Regions from separate parts of the Homo sapiens genome. Here region 2 is linked to region 1. Evidence: promoter capture Hi-C in human tissues and cell types (Jung and others, 2019). All regions are on one chromosome and are shown on one strand. Each heading gives the region's core, a stretch centred on a gene start or on the middle of the fragment in contact. The rest is flanking DNA. Distances are from core to core; before and after follow the strand shown.

Region 1 (3,450 bases), core at 320-2,819:
ATTGCTTTTTCAAATGCCTTTTGCCTTTATTATTTTCCGAAGATTGGAGAGTGATTATTTTCTGCTCAGGCTTCCAAAGAGATTTTCAACATTTATCCATGATAGTATGTTTTAACACCAGGAGCATGTTTTATTTCTATAGTTATATATTTTTAAACAAAAATCTAACAGTAAAAGAGAAAATATTTCTGTTTTGAGACGAAGTCTCGCTCTGTCGCCCAGGCTGGAGTGCAGAGGTGAGATCTCGGCTTGCTGCAACCTCCTCCTTTCCCGTTCAAGCAATTCTCCTGCCTCAGCCTCCCAAGTAGCTGGGACTACATACCCACGTCACCACGCCTGTCTAATTTTTGTATTTTTAGTAGAGACAGGGTTTTGCCATATTGGCCAGGCTGGTCTCGAACTCCTGACCTCAGGTGACCCACCTTCCTTGGCCTCCCAAAGTGCTGGGATTATAGGCATGAGCCACTGTGCCTGGCCCAAAAATATTTCTACCATATGGTTTTGAATGCCACATGGCAAAATTTGTTTTCACATGGTAATTTTATCTTTCTGAATTTTATGTCTGCAGCAGCATTGAATATTAAGTCATGTAGTATAAATCAGTATTCATTTTCCATCAGAAAAGTTTTTCCTACACAGTATGTTTTTGACAGCAGCCTTTACATCCTTGTTTCGCAGACTATAGATGAGAGGATTAAGCATGGGAGTCATCACTCCATAGAAAAGGGAGATGAGGGCCTCAATGATGTCTTCATTACCTGAATCAACAGAGGCTTTAGACTCAGGCTTTGCGTACATGAAGAAGATGGTTCCATAGAATATAATCACCACTGTCAGGTGGGCTGAGCAGGTGGAGAAGGCCTTATGTTTTCCTTCAGTGGAAGGAATCCTCAGAATAGTGGCAACAATAAATATGTAAGAGATGGAAATTACTAACAATGGAATAACCAGAACAATCAGATTCGACCCTGTCATACTAATCACATTGATTGAAATATCAGCACAGGCCAGTTTCAAGATAGCCAGAATTTCACAGACAAAATGTTTAATGACATTATTAGCACAGAATGGTAACTGCATTGCAAAAGCTGTCTGCACTACTGAGTCCACAAGCCCAGTGACCCAGGACCCAGCTGCCATGGCCACATAGGCACCCTTGCTCATGATGACAGGGTATCTCAGTGGGTAGCAGATGGCCACATAGCGGTCCAGTGCCATCGTGCCTAAGATCATGCACTCCGTGGCCCCCATGGCAAAAGAAATAAACATTTGCACCATACACCCAGAGAAGGAAACCTTTTTCTTTACTGCCAGAAAGCTGGCAAGAATTAGTGGGACAGAGGAACTTGTGTAGCAAACGTCGAGGAAGGAAAGATTACAGAGGAAGAAATACATGGGGGTGTGCAGGTGAGAATCAAAGATGATAACTGAGATAAGGACTCCATTTCCAAGCAGGATCATCAGGTACATCCACAAAATTAGAACGAAGAAAACTGTCTGGAGCTTTGGGTGGGCAGAAAGCCCTACCAGGAAAAATTCTGTCGACGTGGAATCGTTGGTCCTTTCCATATTACATATACTGATCTCCAACAGAACTCTGTGAATGATAGAACAGGAATATGTTAATACAGTGTCTGTGAGAGCTACTTTTAAGAATCATATTCTGTATTATTGCAGTTCTGTTTTTGGATGCAACAATATAAGTTTGGGGACAATTTCTTCCTGTAAAACCCAGGCCACTAGAGTAGGAATCCTAACCTGTCTCAGAGTTAAGAGAGAACACATGATTATAGGACCTTTGGATCCCAATCCACTTTATTGCTGTTTCCACAAGTTCTGCCTCTTAACCCATTGGCTGCAAATCAGTGTTCTACAGCCTGGATTCAGCAGACAGGTGTGCTTTGTTTGGCAGTGATTGTCTGCACTGTGTTTAAATTTGAAATAGAGATCAACATTCTTTTTTTTTTTTTTCGACACGGAGTCTCGCTCTGCCGCCCAGTCTGGAGTGCAGTGGCGCCATCTCGGCTCACTGCAGGCTCCGCCTCCCGGGTTCACGCCATTCTCCTGCCTCAGCCTCCCGAGTAGCTGGGATTACAGGCGCCCGCCACCACTCCCAGCTAATTTTGTTTTTGTATATTTAGTAAAGACGGGGTTTCACTGTGTTAGCCAGGATGGTCTCGATCTCCTGACCTCGTGATTTGCCCTCCTCGGCCTCCCAAGGTGCTGGGATTACAGGCGTGAGCCACCGTGCCCGGCCTAGAGATCAACATTCTAATCAACAGATATGGTATAAAAATCTGTGCCTTCAGCTTGTCTTTGAATAAATTAGAATATTTGAAAACTTTAGACCTGTTTCTGTCATGGAGCTTAGTTATATTAATAACTGACCCATTGGATCCAACGCATGTCCCTCCATTCTACCAGACTACAATCCTCACTCTCTTGTCACTGGAGGTGAATATAAGTTATCAATTAACATGTTAGTCTCATGTTATTCTCAATTGTTGGTCTCAATTGTTTATATTACCTGGCAGGATCTTATATGGATTTGGAATCTTGACTTATGGCTGCACGGCCAACTTATCCATTAGGCACAGTACTCCGACCATATTGTGAAAAACCTAGGAAAATGTTTTGATTTCTTTTAAAATATGAAGAAAAACGTTAACTTTAAAGTTTTAATATATACTATATTTGTTTTTGTAACAATGCAGAAGTAAAATATGACTTTTAAATCTTTATGGAAATAAGGCCCCACAAAGGCCAAAAAAAAAAAAAAAAAAAAAGTGCCTAGGGCCCATCAAAATCATAATGTGGCCCTGTGTGGTTGAGCATCTTTTGAAAACTCAGTCTGGTCTACTGGGGTATAGTAGTGGTTATGTATCTGCATATGACCTCTTTGAGGAGAGTAACCTCGTTGAGAAAAGGAACATACCTTCATACTCCTCCAGTATGTTTTTTCAGTACAATGAGGAAGTATTCATTCAAAGAAATGATTTTTAAAAAATTGAATAAATTAAAATTTACAAAGCCAATTTTATCACTGGCTTTGATTAAAATATGTAATGGTGTTTATTGTAGCCTCTACCTAATTTATTTTCAAGCATGCAACAACTAAAGAATCAATTGTGATAATAGTGCTTTTATTCAAAATATATACATTGAACTGAACCAATGATGTCTAACCATTCATTATTGAAAAATAAAATTTATACAGAAGTGTAATATATAAAACAAATAAAAAGGAAAATTTCTCCAGTTGAAGTTACACTGGTGTACAGGGGAGAATAAAACACCATTCTTTACTTGTTTATTCACTCTTACTCCCTCAGTTAAGTTTAAGAGGATTCCAGGGAGCATAGTTTTAAAATCGTCAATGCAATACATAAAATCCTTTAATCAACAACAAGAATAATAAGATAGTAATTTATGTATTGATTATGCCAGATA
Region 2 (3,450 bases), core at 538-3,037, 73 kb after region 1:
TGGCCTGATGAATATGTGGGGCTGAGGGAGTTTCTTTGCTATTTTACTGATCTCCCCCAAAGAAGATAATTGTTCATCCCCGAATGAATATAAATCTGGCTGAAAAGTCATTTTACCTTTCCAAAGATGAGTCAGGATCAATAAAAAGACAACTTCATCTTCCAAGAAGAAGGGCTGTTACTCAAGTTGAAGACTGCATGGAGAGCTGCAAATTTTCTAGAGGGGAAAGAGTGTTGAACCAAGATTAGGTTATTGCATAGGAGGGTATATTAGTTTGCTAAGGCTGCCATAACAACATACCACAACCAGAGTGAGTTCAACAACACAAATTTGTTTTCTCACACTTCTGGAGACTAGAAGTTCAAGATTGAGGTGTTAGCATGTTTAGTTTCTTCTGAGGCCTCTCTCCTTGTTCATCACTGGAGTCAACTGCCTCCTCTTGGCGTGTTCACAGGGTCATCTCTGCGTGTGCATGCATTTGATTTTTCTCTGTGTCCACGTTTCTTTTTATGGGAATACCACTCATATTGAATTAGGTCCCACTCTGAAGATTTTATTTTAACTCAATCACTTTAAAAAATTTTTTGGGCTGGGCGCGGTGGCTCACGCCTGTAATCCGAGCACTTTGGGAGGCCGAGGTGGGCGGATCACGAGGTCAGGAGATCGAGAAAATCCTGGCTAACACGGTGAAACCCCGTCTCTACTAAACAAAATACAAAAAATTAGCCGGGCATGGTGGCGGGCGCCTGTAGTCCCAGCTACTCGGGAGGCTGAGGCAGGAGAATGGCAATGGCATGAACCCGGGAGGCGGAGCTTGCAGTGAGCTGAGATCGCGTCACTGCACTCCAGCCTGGGCGACAGAGCGAGACTCCGTCAAAAAAAAAAAAAAAATTTGTAGAGATGGTGTCTTGCTTTGTTGCCCAGGCTGGTCTTGAACTCCCGGCTTCAAGTGGTCCTCCTGCCTTAGCCTTCCAAAATGTTGAGATTCAAAGTGTGAGCTACCATGTCTGGCCTTAATTGCCTCTTTAAAGGCCTTATCTCTAAATACGGTTTTATTCTGAGGGGCAGGAGGTTAGGACTGCAACAAATGAAATTTGGGGGACACTATTCAGTCTACAACAGAGGCATTGGTCGGCACCTGGGTAGCTTACAGTTCTTCAGGAACATACTCAGGGCCTATTATTAAGGCTAGTACCTTGGATGGGGGGAAAGGTTTGAGGTTCTGTGAAGTAATCCGACCACCAAAATCTATACTGATCTTTTCTCTTGGTAATGAGTTTGCTTCCTTGGTGCCAGAGAGCATGGTCCCTTGGTAAGCTTTATGGTACCTTTCTAAAATCAGGACACCAGCAAAGCAGATACTTTAGGCAAGTGTAGTGGTCATTGTTGAAATCTGAATGTACAAAATTGTGGTTTGCACAGCCTTTTCTGCACAGACAGCAAAGAAGGCATTGTCTCATCTCCAGGGAACAAGGACCTCAAGGCCTCGGGCTTTTGATGTCATCCCCTTTTGGCTTTCCAGTATAATTTTTGGTTAGTAAGGGTTCTCTAAGGTTATCACAGAAACTAGAGCAAATACAATCATGTCTAAGAAAAATGTTCAAGGAACAAAGTCAAAGAGGTGGGGCCACAAACTTCATCAAAAGGCGGTTTGCAGTGTGAAGCAGGAACACGGAGCAAAGCCAAGGCGTCTGGAAGTCATGGGACACAAGATCCAACCAACAAAAGATTCAAATCGTCAGACGAAGGCCTATATTGGTGAAAAAAGTAACCATTGGTGGGTGATATTTTGCATATTTTTGGAAGCATAGCAAGCGTGGAATAAATGTATTTAAATTTGACATTTGTGAGCTGTCACTTTAGGTCTGACAGACACTTTAGGTCTGACTCCCTTATATTGTATGATTGCCTATTTTGTGAATTAGGTTTCTTAGCTTTCTTTTTTTTTTTTTTTTTTTGACAGAGTTTCACTCTGTTGCCCAGGCTAAAGTATAGTGGTGCGATCTCAACTCACTGCAACCTCTGCCTTTCTCATTTAAGCGATTCTCCTGCCTCAGCTTCCCAAGTAGCTGGGATTACAGGCATGCACCACCATACCTGGCTAATTTTTGTGTTTTTAGTAGAGATGTGGTTTCACCATGTTGGCCAGGCTGGTCTCAAACTCCTGATAGTCAGCTTTTTTATTACCATTATGGAGGCTGGAATACAGTAACGACTAAGTGGAGATTTGTTAGATGAATAAATAGTTCATCACATAGGTAACATTCCTGCACACAGGCCCAAGGTAACAGGCAAGGAAAGGTTACACTGGCCTTCCCTGTGTACACACAGGGATGCAGCTCTATTTGTGAACCCTACACGACTACAATTTTCTAAGTATAGTTTTAATTGTCCTTGAAAGGATTAAGATACAATTCTTATGTGTCAAGTATACTTCAATAAAGCTTGATGCGGGAAGGGAAGTTTAAATTTAAGATCTCTGATGTTATAATCCCCTATTGCCACTAGATGGTGAAAAAGACTTGCTTGTCTTTGATGGAGCCCACCCTCCCCCTATGAAAAGCTTTCTCAGTGGAGAAAAAAAATGCACTGCTTTGTTTTTTGTTGTTATTAATATTTACAAATATAAACAAGCTTCTTTATATTTTTATTCAAATTATTTTAAAACATAATAAACTGTCGAAGAGAGTTGCTAGTGTCTTACATTGAAGATTAAATACTAAGGCAAAGCTCTGTGCTTAGTACTGAACTGGAGGCTGTGTGGGGAATAGACTAAGTATGGGGTTTCATCCCTGTCCTTGAACTGAAGGACACTTGATGTATGTCTTACATTAATGTGTCAGTCAATGGCTGCCTTGCCTGGCCATTGTTTATGGTAAATATAGATAAGCTGCGACTGAGCCCGGTGGCTCACGCCTGTAATCCCAGCACTTTGGGAGGCTGAGGCAGGTGGATCACGAGGTCAGGAGTTCGAGACCAGCCCGGCCAACATGGTGAAACCCCCGTCTCTACTAAAAAATACAAAATTAGCAGGGCGTGGTGGCACATGCCTGTAATCCCAGCTACTCGGGAGGCTGAGGCTGGAGAATTGCTTGAACCCAGGAGGCTGAGGTTGCGGGGAGCCAAGATCGCGCCATTGCACTGCAGCCTGGGCAACAAGAGCAAAACTCTGCCTCAAAAAAATATAGAGATTTATTTATATCCATATATATCTATATATAGATGGATTTATATCTATATCTATATATAGTTGGATTTTTATCTATATATCTATATATAGTTGGATTTATATCTATATATCTATATATAGAGAGATTCATATCTATATAGATCTATAGCTCCATGGACAGATTTATATCCATATAGATCTATAGCTCCGTGGATAGATTTATATCCATATAGATCTATAGCTCTGTGGATAGATTTATATCTATATAGATCTATAGCTCC

What was found. The method cuts DNA at HindIII sites, captures the fragments that hold promoters and counts their contacts. A contact is called where the count stands out against the background at its distance.
Region 2: a contact is called between a fragment that was not itself captured here and the fragment with the promoter of OR13C8 in region 1, in 3 of the 25 tissues and cell types used here (H1 embryonic stem cells, bladder and hippocampus).

What each region holds. Positions count from the first base shown.
Region 1 is chr9:104,567,287-104,570,736 of GRCh38, reverse strand. It overlaps OR13C8 (olfactory receptor family 13 subfamily C member 8), which reads right to left and starts at 1,569. Exons shown (of 1, transcript NM_001004483.1): 1 at 607-1,569. The coding sequence starts at 1,569. The coding sequence ends at 607. All of the region lies in intron 3 of LOC107987105 (a long non-coding RNA gene), which reads left to right. The HindIII fragment of the contact is 8,099 bases long and covers 1-3,450 here.
Region 2 is chr9:104,494,084-104,497,533 of GRCh38, reverse strand. No RefSeq gene overlaps it. Among named protein-coding and RNA genes, the nearest start is that of OR13F1, 8.5 kb to the left of the region's middle. The HindIII fragment of the contact is 3,801 bases long and covers 1-3,450 here.